Linked DNA regions of Homo sapiens: all the other regions are linked to region 4. The links are contacts of gene promoters, found by promoter capture Hi-C in blood cells and fetal thymus (Javierre and others, 2016). All regions are on one chromosome and are shown on one strand. The core of a region is centred on a gene start or on the middle of the fragment in contact, and the rest is flanking DNA. Distances in the headings are between cores, read along the strand shown. Region 1 overlaps TOM1L2 (target of myb1 like 2 membrane trafficking protein). Region 2 overlaps TOM1L2 (target of myb1 like 2 membrane trafficking protein). Region 3 overlaps TOM1L2 (target of myb1 like 2 membrane trafficking protein). Region 4 holds the start of RAI1 (retinoic acid induced 1). Region 5 holds the start of MIR6777 (microRNA 6777).

The links. The method cuts DNA at HindIII sites, captures the fragments that hold promoters and counts their contacts. A CHiCAGO score of 5 or more calls a contact.
Region 1: a fragment that was not itself captured here is called in contact with the fragment with the promoter of RAI1 in region 4 in 10 of 17 cell types (total CD4 T cells, fetal thymus, total CD8 T cells and 7 more); the score reaches 9.0 in total CD4 T cells.
Region 2: a fragment that was not itself captured here is called in contact with the fragment with the promoter of RAI1 in region 4 in 3 of 17 cell types (fetal thymus, total CD8 T cells and erythroblasts); the score reaches 6.7 in fetal thymus.
Region 3: a contact is called between a fragment that was not itself captured here and the fragment with the promoter of RAI1 in region 4, in 14 of 17 cell types (naive CD4 T cells, naive B cells, endothelial precursors and 11 more). The highest score is 8.7, in naive CD4 T cells.
Region 5: a contact is called between a fragment that was not itself captured here and the fragment with the promoter of RAI1 in region 4, in 16 of 17 cell types (naive B cells, total CD8 T cells, megakaryocytes and 13 more). The highest score is 21.5, in naive B cells.

What each region holds. Positions count from the first base shown.
Region 1 is chr17:17,916,030-17,918,729 of GRCh38, reverse strand. The region is part of intron 1 of TOM1L2 (target of myb1 like 2 membrane trafficking protein); the gene reads left to right. Among named protein-coding and RNA genes, the nearest start is that of TOM1L2, 55 kb to the left of the region's middle. The HindIII fragment of the contact is 8,009 bases long and covers 1-2,700 here.
Region 2 is chr17:17,891,012-17,893,711 of GRCh38, reverse strand. TOM1L2 (target of myb1 like 2 membrane trafficking protein) reads left to right here. Exons shown (of 15, transcript NM_001082968.2): 4 at 1-51. Among named protein-coding and RNA genes, the nearest start is that of SREBF1, 55 kb to the right of the region's middle. RefSeq lists an enhancer at 2,612-2,700. The HindIII fragment of the contact is 2,028 bases long and covers 269-2,296 here.
Region 3 is chr17:17,870,629-17,873,328 of GRCh38, reverse strand. The region is part of intron 7 of TOM1L2 (target of myb1 like 2 membrane trafficking protein); the gene reads left to right. Among named protein-coding and RNA genes, the nearest start is that of SREBF1, 35 kb to the right of the region's middle. The HindIII fragment of the contact is 6,030 bases long and covers 1-2,700 here.
Region 4 is chr17:17,680,033-17,682,732 of GRCh38, reverse strand. It overlaps RAI1 (retinoic acid induced 1), which reads right to left and starts at 1,275. Exons shown (of 6, transcript NM_030665.4): 1 at 940-1,275. RefSeq lists silencers at 1-564, 551-723, 735-814, 875-1,014, 1,045-1,554 and an enhancer at 633-1,234. The HindIII fragment of the contact is 10,976 bases long and covers 1-2,700 here.
Region 5 is chr17:17,811,173-17,813,872 of GRCh38, reverse strand. RAI1 (retinoic acid induced 1) reads right to left here. Exons shown (of 6, transcript NM_030665.4): 6 at 2,420-2,700. SREBF1 (sterol regulatory element binding transcription factor 1) reads left to right here. Exons shown (of 19, transcript NM_004176.5): 17 at 104-304; 18 at 394-505; 19 at 1,022-2,539. The coding sequence ends at 1,251. It overlaps MIR6777 (microRNA 6777), which reads left to right and starts at 328; the gene lies at 328-393. It overlaps MIR33B (microRNA 33b), which reads left to right; the gene lies at 1-37. RefSeq lists an enhancer at 558-1,116. The HindIII fragment of the contact is 155 bases long and covers 1,173-1,327 here.

The DNA of each region.
Region 1 (2,700 bases), core at 182-2,681, 240 kb before region 4:
CTATCAGGTGCTGGAGCCCATCAGAGGGCCTCTCTTGTGGGCGGCAGCAAAGAAGGTTCTGGAGAGGACGTTGGATGGGAGCTAGATATGGGCAGATAGGCTGGAGAGAAGGCTTTCCAGACAGAAGTCTGAGGTGACTTTCTCAGGGCTTGCAAAGACCTGCAGATCCTGTTATGGTTCCTGTTTTCACCCTCTTGCAATTTTTTATGGAATAAGGACTCAAATGGGTCTTCTCTTCAGCTTTGTTTGCTCTCATGGTGTATGACTGTGTTTTGTAAAAATATATATAGGCGCAACGATGCTGCCTTTCACCACTTCTATTCAACATGGTATTGGAAATTGTAGCCAGAGCAGTTAGGGAAGAAAAAGAAATAAAAGGCATCTCAATGGGAAAGGAAGGAGTAAAATTATCTCTGTTCCCTGATGACATGACTTTACATGTAGAAAACCTTGAAGATACCACAAAACAAAAAAAAAAAGAAAAACTGCTAGAGCGAATAACATAAATTTACCAAAGCTGCAGGATACAAAATCAACATTCAAAAATCAGTTGTGTTTCTGTTAATATACATTAACAATGAACAATCTGAAAAGAAAAGAAAACAATTCCATTTACACTAGCCTCTAAAAAAATAAAATACCTAGGAATTAACCAAGGCAGCAAAAAATTGTGCACCGAAAACTATAAAACGTTGCTGAAAGAAATTAAAGAAGAAAGAAGACATAAATATATGGAAAAACATCCTGTGTTCATAGATGGGAAGACAGTTTTTTTTTAAGGCAGCCTCATTGTGTTGCCCAGGTTGGAGTGCAGTGGCTCAATTACGGCTCAGTGCAGCCTTGACCTCCCGGGCTCAAGTCATCCTCCCACCTTAGCCTCCTGAGTAGATGAAATGACAGGTGTAAGCCACCACTCCTGGCTAATTTTTAAATTTTTTGTAGGGATGGGGTCTCCTTATGTTGCCCAGGCTGTTCTTAAACTCCTGAGCTCAAGCAGTCTTCCCACCTTGGCCTCCCAAAGTGATGGGATTTACAGGCATGAGCTGGCCTGGGAAGCTAATATTTTTAAGATGACAACACTACCCAAAGTGATCTACAGATGTAATGAAATCCCAGTTAAAATTGCAATGAAGCCAGGCATGGTGGCATGCACATGTATTCCCAGCTACTTGGAAGGCTAAGATGGGAGGATTGCTTGAGCCCAGGAGTTTGAGTCCAGACTGGGCAACATAGCAAGACCCTGTCTCTGAAAAAAAAAAAAAAAAAAAAAAAAAAAAAAGACCAATGGTATTTTTTTCAGAAATAGAAAAATCCATCCTAAAATTCACATGAAATCTCAAGGGACCCCAAATAGCCAAACAACCTTTAATTTTTATTTATTTTTATTTATTTTTTTGAGATGGGGTCTTGCTCTGTCGCCCAGGCTGGAGTGCAGTGATGTGATTTTGGCTCATTTTGCAACCTCTGCCTCCCAGGTTCGAGTGATTCTCCTGGCTCAGCCTCCCAAGCACCTGGGACAACAGGTGTGCGCCACCACGCCCAGCTAATTTTTTAAATTTTTTAATTTTTTTAGATGGAGTTTCACTCTGTCTCCCAGGCTGGAGTGCAGTGGCGTGATCTCGGCTCATTGCAACCTCTGCCTGCTGAGTTCAAGTGACTCTCCTGCCTCAGCCTCCGGAGTAGCTGGGACTATAGGTGTGTGCCCCTGCGCCCAGCTAATTTATGTATTTTTAGTAGAGATGGGGTTTCACCATGTTGGTTGGCCAGGATGGTCTCAATCTCTTGACCTCGTGATCCACCTGCCTCGGCCTCCCAAAATGCTGGGATTACAGGTGTGAGCCACTGTGCCTGGCTAATTTTTGTATTTTTAGTAGAGACAGGGTTTCACTGTGTTGACCAGACTGGTGTCAAACTCCTAACCTCATGAGATCCACTCACCTCGGCCTCCCAAAGTATCGGGATTACAGGCGTGAGCCACTGCGCCTGGCCCTAAACAACCTTTAAAAAGAACAAAGTTGGAGGACTCACACTTCCTGATTTCAAAACTTACTTCAAAACTATAATAATCACAACATCATGGTATTGGAATAAGGAAAGACACATGGACCAATGGAATAAAGTAGAGAACTCAGAAATAAACTCTCCCGTATATGGTCAATTGATTTTCAGCAAGGGTGCCAAAAGTATTTAGAGGGGAAAGGACAGTCTTTTCAACAAATGGTGCTGGGAAAACTGAATATCCACATGCAAAAGAGTGAAGTCGGACCATTATCTTATACCATATGCAAAAATGAACCCCAAACAGACCAAAGACCTAAACATAAGAGCGAAGGGAAAACTATAAAAATCTTAAAATAGGCCGGGCGCGGTGATTCATGCCTGTAATCCCAGCACTTTGGGAGGCCAAGGCAGGCAGATCACGAGGTCAGGAGATCGAGACCATCCTGGCTAACACAGTGAAACCCCGTCTCTACTAAAAATACAAAAAATTAGCCTGGCATAGTGGTGGGCGCCTGTAGTCTCAGCTACTCAGGAGGCTGAGGCAGGAGAAGGGCGTGAACCCAGGAGGTAGAGCTTGCAGTGAGCTGAGATCGCGCCACTGCACTCCAGCCTGGGTGACAGCGCAAGACTCCATCTCAAAAAAAAAAAAAAAAATCTTAAAAAGGGGAAATCATGACATTGGATTTAGCAAAGATTTCT
Region 2 (2,700 bases), core at 33-2,532, 210 kb before region 4:
AAGAACAACCCTCCCACCATTGTACAGGACAAAGTGCTTGCTCTGATCCAGGTAGGTTGGACCCCTTGCCCAATTTGTTGGAACAGAGTAAGATGAAGTCTCTTATTGATGAGTCCTCATGCTCTCCCACCATTTGGAGGAAAAAAAAAATGGAGACTTCTACATTTAAAATATTTGGTGCAAAATACTTCAAAAAAAATTCTCATCCCACTGGAATGAAATTCTAATTGATGGCTCTCCAGCCAGTTAACAGAGCCTTCCTGAAGCTTTCTGGGTGCCATCCCTCTGCTGCTCACAAAGGCAGGTAGGGTGGCCTCAACAGGCCTCTGAGAAAACTTGGAGTAGGAAGAACCATGTTAGAGCTACGTGCGGGTTTGGTGAGGTCACAGGGCAGGGGCCAACTCTGGGTCAGGCGGAGCAAGGTAAGGGGCTGGGGATGGTGTTAAGGGATGTTTCACTGAGGAGATGACATTTCCATTGGACCCTGAAGAATGATGGGGAGTTTGGTGGAAAAGTCAGTGGGAGAGACTTCACAGGCAGGGAGAATAGCATGTGCAAAGGCCCAGACGCATCAAAGAGAGCAGTTGGCATATTTGGGTTGTATTTGTTATCACTCACTGTGTTACAAATTACCTCAAAACATACCTTCAAACGGAAAATGTTCATTATCTCTTAGTTTCTGTGGGCCAGGAATTCAGGAGCAGGTGGCTGGGCAATTCTGGCTTGGAGTCTCTCTTGAGGTTGCATTGTCTGAAGGCTCGACTATAGCTGGAGGCTCCACTTCCACCATGGTGCACCCACATGGCTGTTGGCAGGAAGCCTCAGTTCCTTGATGACTATTGGCAAGAGACCTGAGTTTATCACCATGTGGACATCAAGATTAGGTCTTGATGACCTAGCCTTGGAAGTCACATACCATTTTTTTCTGTTATATTCTATTTGTTAGAAGGGAGTCACCAGGCCTAGCCTCAAGAGTAGGGGAAATAAACTCCATCTCTTGAAGAAAGGAGGATCAAATAATTTGTGGACATGTTGTAGAGACCACTATGTGGGGAAGGGGGTGTAATGAAGAATGTTGGGGGCAGGGCTTGGGGTGGGGGAGCAGGCAGGAGATGGGACCAGAAGGATGCCCAGAGGCCAGTGGCCATGCATGCTGAGGAGGCATGCTTGGTCCTGTAGGCAGTGGGAAGACATCGAAGGGCTCTGAGCTGGGATGTGTGCAGACCTGGGTTTTAGACAGAGCACGTGGTGACACAGAAGGCACATAAGTCAACAGGCACATCCAGCCTGGGTGATTAGTGCTGTGGCAGAGGCAAGACAAGGGCCTGCAGGAGCCAAGAGGAGAGACAAACCTAGGGCTGGGCGTGGGGCTCCAGCAAGGGCAAAGGGAGGCAACCAGGCAGAGGCAGCGGAGAATGCAGGAAGTGGAGTGCCGGGGCAGGCCGGGCTCTCAGATGGGTCAGGTGTGCAGCTGGAGAGGAGCCTCTGTCCATTCCCTGTGCTCACTTCCCTCTGCCTGAAAGGTCTTTCCCCAGCTTTCAGAGCAGTGACTCCTCCTCCTCATTCACAGGTGCCTCGGAGGCCTCCAGCTGGTTTTAAGCACACACACTCTCTGTCTCACATCATCCTTTTTTGTGGTCTTCAAGACTGGCTTTGCTAACATTTCTTTTGTCTGCCTCATTCTTCGTTCCCTAAGAACCCAGGGACATGCTGTCCCCAGGGTCTAGAGCAGTGTAATGTGTAGAGCGGGTGTTCAGTATTTCTTTATAATGAATGAGTGAATGTAGTTAATTCTGAGGAACTCTGGGAGGCCTTCCCCTGTTTACCCTAGGGTTGTCCCTCGTCCCTGTTCTGCCCACCCAATATCCTTCTGTCTCTCTGTCTCCCTCTGACACACACACACACACACACACACACACACACACACGTGTGCATGCACTTTACCTTCCTCATACACCCCACTCTACCACAGCCCTTCCTTCTGGGGCTGCACTCCCCTACCTCAATACCCCCAGGAATTCATGTTAGGAAAACAAATGGTGGCTTCTTCTCACAAAGCATGTCCTGTGGTAGAGCTTTCTGACCCCGAGGCCTGTCTGCAGGGTGGCGGGCCCAGCAGGGTGGCTAGCCTACCGCATGGCAAGCACAGTTATCACAAGGGGTGTGAACTGCACTGTCCCTGCTGACTGTGTGGGGACCATGGCTGAGGGCAGACACAGCCTTCTTCACTGGCTGTGGCCCACACCTCTACCCTGAGGATGCCTGTCCCCGCACACCCTGCCCTCACCTCCAAGCTTTCCTATCAGGATCACCCCTCCACACTTTCCAGCTCCTCCTAGCTTTTACCCAGTCCTGCTGCTAACCTCAGACAGGTGTACTAATTTATTGTGGGCATGTACCACCTTATCTGTAAAATGGAACTTGGGGTTCTTGCCTGTCTGCTCTCAATCCTGAGCCCATGAGATCAGCCCAAGGTGTGAAGTGGCCAGCACCATGTTCTGAGGCCTCCCCCTGCTGGTCTGGCAGTAGCAGTGTGTGCTGGCCATGGGGACCTGAGCAGAACAGGGCCTTGAGATGCCTCACAAGCTTCTGCCTGGCTGGACAGTTTCCTGGTCCAGCTGTGAAAAGCATGGGCTTCAGATAAGGGTGCTACTCCTAGATGGGGGTTGATAACCCAGCTGGAGAGTGTTCTTCCTCTCC
Region 3 (2,700 bases), core at 175-2,674, 190 kb before region 4:
GATGAATAAATGGGAAGTACGTGTTAAAGCTGTCACTGTAAAATGTTAATGGTACAATCTAGGTGATAGGCATATGGTGTCTGTTCACTGTAAAATTCTTCCTGTTTTGCTGTATGTTTGAAAATTTTTATGACAAAATACTGGAGTGGGGAAACATCCTGAGGCCTTGAAGGATGAGTAAGAGTTTGTTTGATGGAAAAGGAAATAAGGGACATTGCAGGCAGATGGCCAACTTCTCAGGAGCCCTTAAGCAGTGTGGCAAGTGCCTGAGGCCACCTATATTCTGGAAAGTCTGAGGTGTATTTGAAGATGGCCTGTGGGCCTTAGGTGCTGATACCCCAGTCTTCTGGAGGGTAACTTGGATCTGTTTCCCACAACCTACTGCCACACTCCCCTGACTTGCACGTCCTGTGCCTTGTGATTGGCCTGCAGTTTGCATGAGAAGTGATTGACTTTTTTCCTTCTCCCTCCCCAGCCAAGGACAGCCAGGGCTTGCTGCTAGGCCACAAGCCCCAGAGGCCACACTTTCTTGTAATGGGCCTGTTTGCTGGAGGGGGTGGGTCCTGAGCTGGGACTTGAGATCCTTTTGCTCATCAGAGATTTTCCGCAGACACCTGGAGCGCTGGAGCAAAGAGGAGCTCAGCAGTGCCTGGCTCGGTCCTCATGTGTGTTGGCACGTCCACATCCCTGGGGAGGAGACCCGCACGGTGGCCCGGAACAGTCCATGGCAGAGCAGAGAGGCAGAAGTTTGTTTGACCTCTTTTCTCTGTCCTACTGCCCAGCCTCCCTTTTCCATCCTGCACACTTTGGCCAGGTCTCCCTCTGGTGCTTCTTCCAAAGTATGGGGTAAATCTACTGCCCAAGTGTTGGCCAAGTATCCTTTTTTTCTTTTAGGAAGCAGGGGAGGATGGTCTGTCAAAGTTAACCTAAATCTGTGCTCCTCTGTCAGCCCTGAACAGATGCTCACTGTGTTTTAACAATCTATTAGAAATACTATAATTATTTTAATTGTTCACTTCAGTCCTGGCTGTTGGAATCCTTCACGTGATCTATGTGATTGTTTCTTTCATAAGTTTGGACATTTTTATTTTGTTTTTGTTTGTTTTAATGTTAAGGGCCTGCCTTGGTTTTCTGCATCACTCCTGAGTATGCTTCATTCTGTAATGAGTGTTTCCCCTGTGTTGTTGGTTTTCCTGTGTACAGTAATTGTGACTGGGTTTTGACCTGTGAGTGTCCATTGGCGCCTGTGGCCATTATTGCCTGGCAATCCAGACCACGTCTGGCAGGCCCCAAGGCCCAGGCAGCTTTTTGAGAGCCCCTCTCCTGCCTGGCCTGGGGACATGAGCCATTCACAACAGAGGAGAGTGGGTATTTTGTGGAGTTTTCTCTTTACTGGATAGTAGTGTCCCCTGCAATTAAGATCCCGTATTCACCTCTTATTAATTCTAGCACTTGTCTGTATGTTTATAAGTGCTTACTGCTGGTTCAGTGGGGCCTGGGATGAGTCCTAGAGAGGGAAAATTAGATCCTGGATGAACAAGAATTCCCCATTCTCTGAGTGAAGAGTGCTGAGAAGACTGAGAGTATGTGGATAACTGAGCTGGTAATTTGCGGGGACCAAGAGTTCAGAATACTTTATATTTTATTTTTATTTTTTGGAGACAGGGTCTCACTCTGTTCCCCAGGCTGGAGTGCAGTAGTGCAATCTCTGCTCACTGTAGCCTCTGCCTCCCGGATTCAAGCAATTCTCCCACCTCAGCCTCCTGAATAGCTGGGATTACAGGTGCATGCCACTGTGCCCAATTTATTTTTGTATTTTTTCGTAGAGATGGGGTTTTACCATGTTGGCCAAGCTGGTCTCAAACTCCTGACCTCAAGTGATCCGCCTGCCTCGGCCTCCCAAAGTGCTGGGATTACAGGCATGAGGCACCGCACTTGGCCTCTGAATACTTTTTTTTGAGATGGAGTCTCGCTCTCTCTCCCAGTCTGGAGTGCAGTGGCGTGATCTCGGCTCACTGCAAGCTCCGCCTCCTGGGTTCACGCCATTCTCCTGCCTCAGTCTCCCAAGTAGCTGGGACTACAGGTGCCCGCCACCAACGCCCGGCTAATTTTTTGTGTTTTTAGTAGAGACGGGGTTTCACCGTATTAGCCAGGATGGTCTCGATCTCCTGACCTCGTGATCCATCCGCCTCGGCCTCCAATAGTTTTGGGATTACAGGCGTGAGCCACCACACCTGGCCCCGGCCTCTGAATACTTTAGAGTCATTAATTAATTCTCTCAGAAGTACTTGGGGAGAGCCTCCCATGTGTCATGGGTACCAGGGAAATACCTTCTCTGCCCTCAAGGAGCTTCAGTCTAGACGGGAGGGCAGATAAGAAGCCCAGCCCCTGTGTGAGTGCTGTGTTGCAGGATACCAGGGACATGCAGGGGGGATGCCTTTGATTCCCCACTGGCTGATTGACCACCTTGGTGATGTGTTCAGCAGATGATTACTGGGCTTTTTCACTGTGTGTGGCTCAGTGCGGGGCTTGAGGGCATCCTTGAGTGGATAAATGGTAACACCCCCTCAAGAGTTTATGATGTGGTAGGAAGGAAGACCCTGTAGCCAAGCTAGCAAGATTATGAGACAATATGAGGAACTAAAGAGAGATTGCCGTGTCTCCTGTGAATAAATCAGTTACTTCTACCAGAAACGGTTT
Region 4 (2,700 bases), core at 26-2,525:
CCCAGGAAGCTGGGGCCGCGACGGCCTAGGGCCTGGCTGGTGTTTCGCTTCCCCTCCGCCCCACCACGGAGGCCCCTGGCGCGACCAGGCTCCAAATGTCACCCTCGCGTCCTGCCACCCCTTGTCCCCGCCGCACTCGGCCCCCATGTCCTCCTCCCGGGTTCCCTGCCTTCAAGGCGCGTGAGAGGGGGGGCCGGCCTCGAAAAGGGCGGCGGGCTGCGCCGCCGTCTGTGGGGCGCAAGGCTCGCGTGTCCGGGGCCCCCGCCCGTGACGTCATCCCCGAAGGGCCCGTGCCTCCCGGGCCTGGCCGCTACAGAGCTCCCCAGGTCGCGGGGGCCGCTTCCTGCCCGGCCTCGGGGCCTGCGCACAGGCCCCGGGGCCGCTGCCCGGGTAGGGACACCGCAGAGAGCCCGAGCACCCATCTCGCCACGCACGGCCTTCGCCGGCCCTGACTCCCAAGCGATGGCCACGCCGGGCCCGGGTCACGCATGGGGAAGTCAGCTCCCCGTCCCCCACCTCGGACGCACTCACAAAGCTCACCTCCGCCCCCGGCGCCCCGCGAATGCACCCCACGTCCCCACCCCACGCTCCGCAAAGACTCCGCGCCTCGGCGCAAGCAGATCCCTTGCCACACTCGCCCCTCGCGCCCCCATGCCCCCACCCGACCTCAGCTGGCCGCACATCCCCCAGAAGACCCTCAGCCGCGGCGCAGGGCGCCCCCACCCTGCAGCTCCCCAGACGTCCATCCGGTGACCTCGCGCACCCCCCACACCACACAAAGCAAGGACCCCGCGGACCCCACATCTCCACCCAGCGCGCGCGCTCGGCGTCCGAACCCGCCTCGGCTCATCACCCGGCCTAGGATCCCGACGCCTCGCGCCGCCCCCGCCCCGGGGCAGGATACACTGCGCCCCCCGCGCCCCGGCGCTCGCTGCTCACCTCGGCGCCCGCGCTCACTCGGGGGCCTTGGGTCTGGCGCTGCGACTTCGCGGCCCGGAGGCCTGGGTGGCCATGGGGGTCGGGGCGCGGCGGCCCGGCCGGCCCGCGGCCAGGCAGGAAGGAGGGTGGGCCGCGGCGCCCCCTCCTCGCGCCGGCGCTAGGGCCGCGGGCAGGGCGGCCTGCTCGGCTCGCCTCTCGCCCTCGCTGCACTCGCTCTCCCACTCGTCTCTCGGAGCCCAGCCGCGGGCGGGGGCGGCGCCCGGGGACGCGGGGAGCGGGCCTTGGCCGCGCACCCGGCCGGGCCTGCCTGGTGTCCGCGGGTGCCGCGAGGAATGCGATCCCCTCCGCACAGGAAGAGCGGACGAGCGGACGGGCGGGCGGGCGACGCGCGGGGGGAGAAGGAGAGCAAGAGCGCGAGGAAAAAAGTTCCCGGGCGGCCTGGCTGCGCTCGCTCGCGGCCCCGGGCGCCAGGTGGGCCGTGCGCGCCCCGACAGCACCCCCTGGCGGTCCGCGCGCCCCACTGCGCGCCCCCCGCCCGCTGGCCGGCCTGCGGGAGGGGGCCTCTGCGGTGGGATCCCGGTGCGGCCTGGGAGGACACTAGCGCCCTGCGTACAGGAGCTTCCAGCGTCAGGCCAGGCCCCCACCCTCACCCCACCATTAGCCCTCACCTGTGCCCACTTCTTTGCAGTTTGAGAAACATTTTCGATTTCAAAACTCCATTGGCTTCATGTAAACTTCATTTACTGGGCACCTGGCACCTTGCTGAGTCTTGAGGAATCAGCAGAGACAATGCGGTCCCTGCTGTCGTGGAGCTGGCATCCTGGTGGGAAGAGACAGACAGCAAACAAATGCTTAGATACATGACGAAGATAATTTTAGAGCAGTAAGTGCTAGGACGAAAATTAGCAGGTGAAGTGACGGCTAGGGCTCCTTGGCTGGGGGAGAGAGAAGGAGGCCTGTCTGTGCAAAGATCTAAATAGCAAGAGGAACCGCCATGGGTAGAGTCTGGGAAGAGCATTTTGTTCTTTTAGAGGCAGGGTCTTGCTGTGTTGCCCAGGCCGAACTTGAATTCCTGGCCTCAAACAGTCCTCCCACCTCAGCCTTCTGAGTAGCTGGGACTACAGGGGCCTGCCCTCCTGGGAAGAGCATCATTGGCAGAAAGAACATCAAGTGCAAAGGTCCTGAGGCAGGAGAGAACTTGGTGAGTAAGTGGAATTGTGAGGAGGCCGTCAGCAAGGGGACAAGTAATGGGCACATTGAAGTCAGAGCCATATCGGGAGGGCCAGAGCCTGCAGGGCTGCAGAGAGCTCAGTGAGGAATTTGTTTGCAATTCTAGTGCAAGGAAGGTAGCCACTGGCAGACTTTAAACAGAGGCATGTTGAATGAGAGAGTCCTTGCATGAAACTTAAGGTACAGACCTCGGAGCAATTTCATGCCTAGGTCTCTACTTGCCATAGCTCAGGTGGGAGCTCACTGCCACCTGCTTGGGAAGCCTCTCAGCCCCACCCAGGCTCTAGGGTCTGTGGGATATGACCCCATTAACAGCCCCATCGAAGCCTCCCTCATTTGTCCTTTGGTAGGGCAGAGGGGAGCTGGTCAAGGCATCAGAGCTTGTGGGTGACCTGGGACAAGTGAATCCTGCATCTGCAAAATAAGGTATTGTGATAGATGGGGGGCCCTCACTCTGTCCCAGGCCTGCTGTGCCCCTTCTGTGCATGGTCTCATTAGATCCTGGTGCCCCCTCTGTGAGGTCGGCTCATC
Region 5 (2,700 bases), core at 1-2,500, 130 kb before region 4:
CTCGGCAGTGCAGCCCGGAGCCGGCCCCTGGCACCACGGGCCCCCATCCTGCCCCTCCCAGAGCTGGAGCCCTGGTGACCCCTGCCCTGCCTGCCACCCCCAGGCCGTGCAGCTGTTCCTGTGTGACCTGCTTCTTGTGGTGCGCACCAGCCTGTGGCGGCAGCAGCAGCCCCCGGCCCCGGCCCCAGCAGCCCAGGGCACCAGCAGCAGGCCCCAGGCTTCCGCCCTTGAGCTGCGTGGCTTCCAACGGGACCTGAGCAGCCTGAGGCGGCTGGCACAGAGCTTCCGGCCCGCCATGCGGAGGGTGAGTGCCCGATGGCCCTGTCCTCAAGACGGGGAGTCAGGCAGTGGTGGAGATGGAGAGCCCTGAGCCTCCACTCTCCTGGCCCCCAGGTGTTCCTACATGAGGCCACGGCCCGGCTGATGGCGGGGGCCAGCCCCACACGGACACACCAGCTCCTCGACCGCAGTCTGAGGCGGCGGGCAGGCCCCGGTGGCAAAGGAGGTGAGGGGGCAGCTGCTGACCAGGGATGTGCTGTCTGCTCAGCAGGGAAGGGCGCACATGGGATGTGATACCAAGGGAGGCTGTGTGTGTGTCAGACGGGACAGACAGGCCTGGCGCAGTGGCTCACACCTAGCACTTTGGGAGGCTCAGTTGGGAGGACAGCTTGAGCCCAGGAGTTGGAGGCCGCAGTGAGCCTGAGTGACAGGGAGAGTCCCTGTCTCAAAAAAAAAAAAAGACCAAGCATCTTCTTGATGGTTACCTGATGACAATTCCTTTCACAAGGAATCAGTGGGGTGACTGTCATTTGTGGGATACATGACTGCACGTGCGTGACTCAGTCTGTGGACTTTGTGTGTGGGCTGAGACTAGGGTGGGGAGAGGGGAACCCGCCAGGCCCCCGCCAGGTACCTGTGTGCCAGGTACAGGCGGCTGGTGCCGTGGCTTGTGTGTGGGCAGGGCTCCCGCGGGGGCGTGGCCAGCTTGAGACCCATCCCTGACACATCCTCGTGTGCGCAGGCGCGGTGGCGGAGCTGGAGCCGCGGCCCACGCGGCGGGAGCACGCGGAGGCCTTGCTGCTGGCCTCCTGCTACCTGCCCCCCGGCTTCCTGTCGGCGCCCGGGCAGCGCGTGGGCATGCTGGCTGAGGCGGCGCGCACACTCGAGAAGCTTGGCGATCGCCGGCTGCTGCACGACTGTCAGCAGATGCTCATGCGCCTGGGCGGTGGGACCACTGTCACTTCCAGCTAGACCCCGTGTCCCCGGCCTCAGCACCCCTGTCTCTAGCCACTTTGGTCCCGTGCAGCTTCTGTCCTGCGTCGAAGCTTTGAAGGCCGAAGGCAGTGCAAGAGACTCTGGCCTCCACAGTTCGACCTGCGGCTGCTGTGTGCCTTCGCGGTGGAAGGCCCGAGGGGCGCGATCTTGACCCTAAGACCGGCGGCCATGATGGTGCTGACCTCTGGTGGCCGATCGGGGCACTGCAGGGGCCGAGCCATTTTGGGGGGCCCCCCTCCTTGCTCTGCAGGCACCTTAGTGGCTTTTTTCCTCCTGTGTACAGGGAAGAGAGGGGTACATTTCCCTGTGCTGACGGAAGCCAACTTGGCTTTCCCGGACTGCAAGCAGGGCTCTGCCCCAGAGGCCTCTCTCTCCGTCGTGGGAGAGAGACGTGTACATAGTGTAGGTCAGCGTGCTTAGCCTCCTGACCTGAGGCTCCTGTGCTACTTTGCCTTTTGCAAACTTTATTTTCATAGATTGAGAAGTTTTGTACAGAGAATTAAAAATGAAATTATTTATAATCTGGGTTTTGTGTCTTCAGCTGATGGATGTGCTGACTAGTGAGAGTGCTTGGGCCCTCCCCCAGCACCTAGGGAAAGGCTTCCCCTCCCCCTCCGGCCACAAGGTACACAACTTTTAACTTAGCTCTTCCCGATGTTTGTTTGTTAGTGGGAGGAGTGGGGAGGGCTGGCTGTATGGCCTCCAGCCTACCTGTTCCCCCTGCTCCCAGGGCACATGGTTGGGCTGTGTCAACCCTTAGGGCCTCCATGGGGTCAGTTGTCCCTTCTCACCTCCCAGCTCTGTCCCCATCAGGTCCCTGGGTGGCACGGGAGGATGGACTGACTTCCAGGACCTGTTGTGTGACAGGAGCTACAGCTTGGGTCTCCCTGCAAGAAGTCTGGCACGTCTCACCTCCCCCATCCCGGCCCCTGGTCATCTCACAGCAAAGAAGCCTCCTCCCTCCCGACCTGCCGCCACACTGGAGAGGGGGCACAGGGGCGGGGGAGGTTTCCTGTTCTGTGAAAGGCCGACTCCCTGACTCCATTCATGCCCCCCCCCCCAGCCCCTCCCTTCATTCCCATTCCCCAACCTAAAGCCTGGCCCGGCTCCCAGCTGAATCTGGTCGGAATCCACGGGCTGCAGATTTTCCAAAACAATCGTTGTATCTTTATTGACTTTTTTTTTTTTTTTTTTCTGAATGCAATGACTGTTTTTTACTCTTAAGGAAAATAAACATCTTTTAGAAACAGCTCGATACACACAATCTTCAGTGTGAAGCAATATACTAATAAGAACACTAGTCGTCTTAACATTTACAGTCTTCATATATATTATATATATGTATATGTATACATATATATACACTATATAACGAGGCCAGATATAATACACACGTTTACCATTTTACAGTCATATGTACAGGAA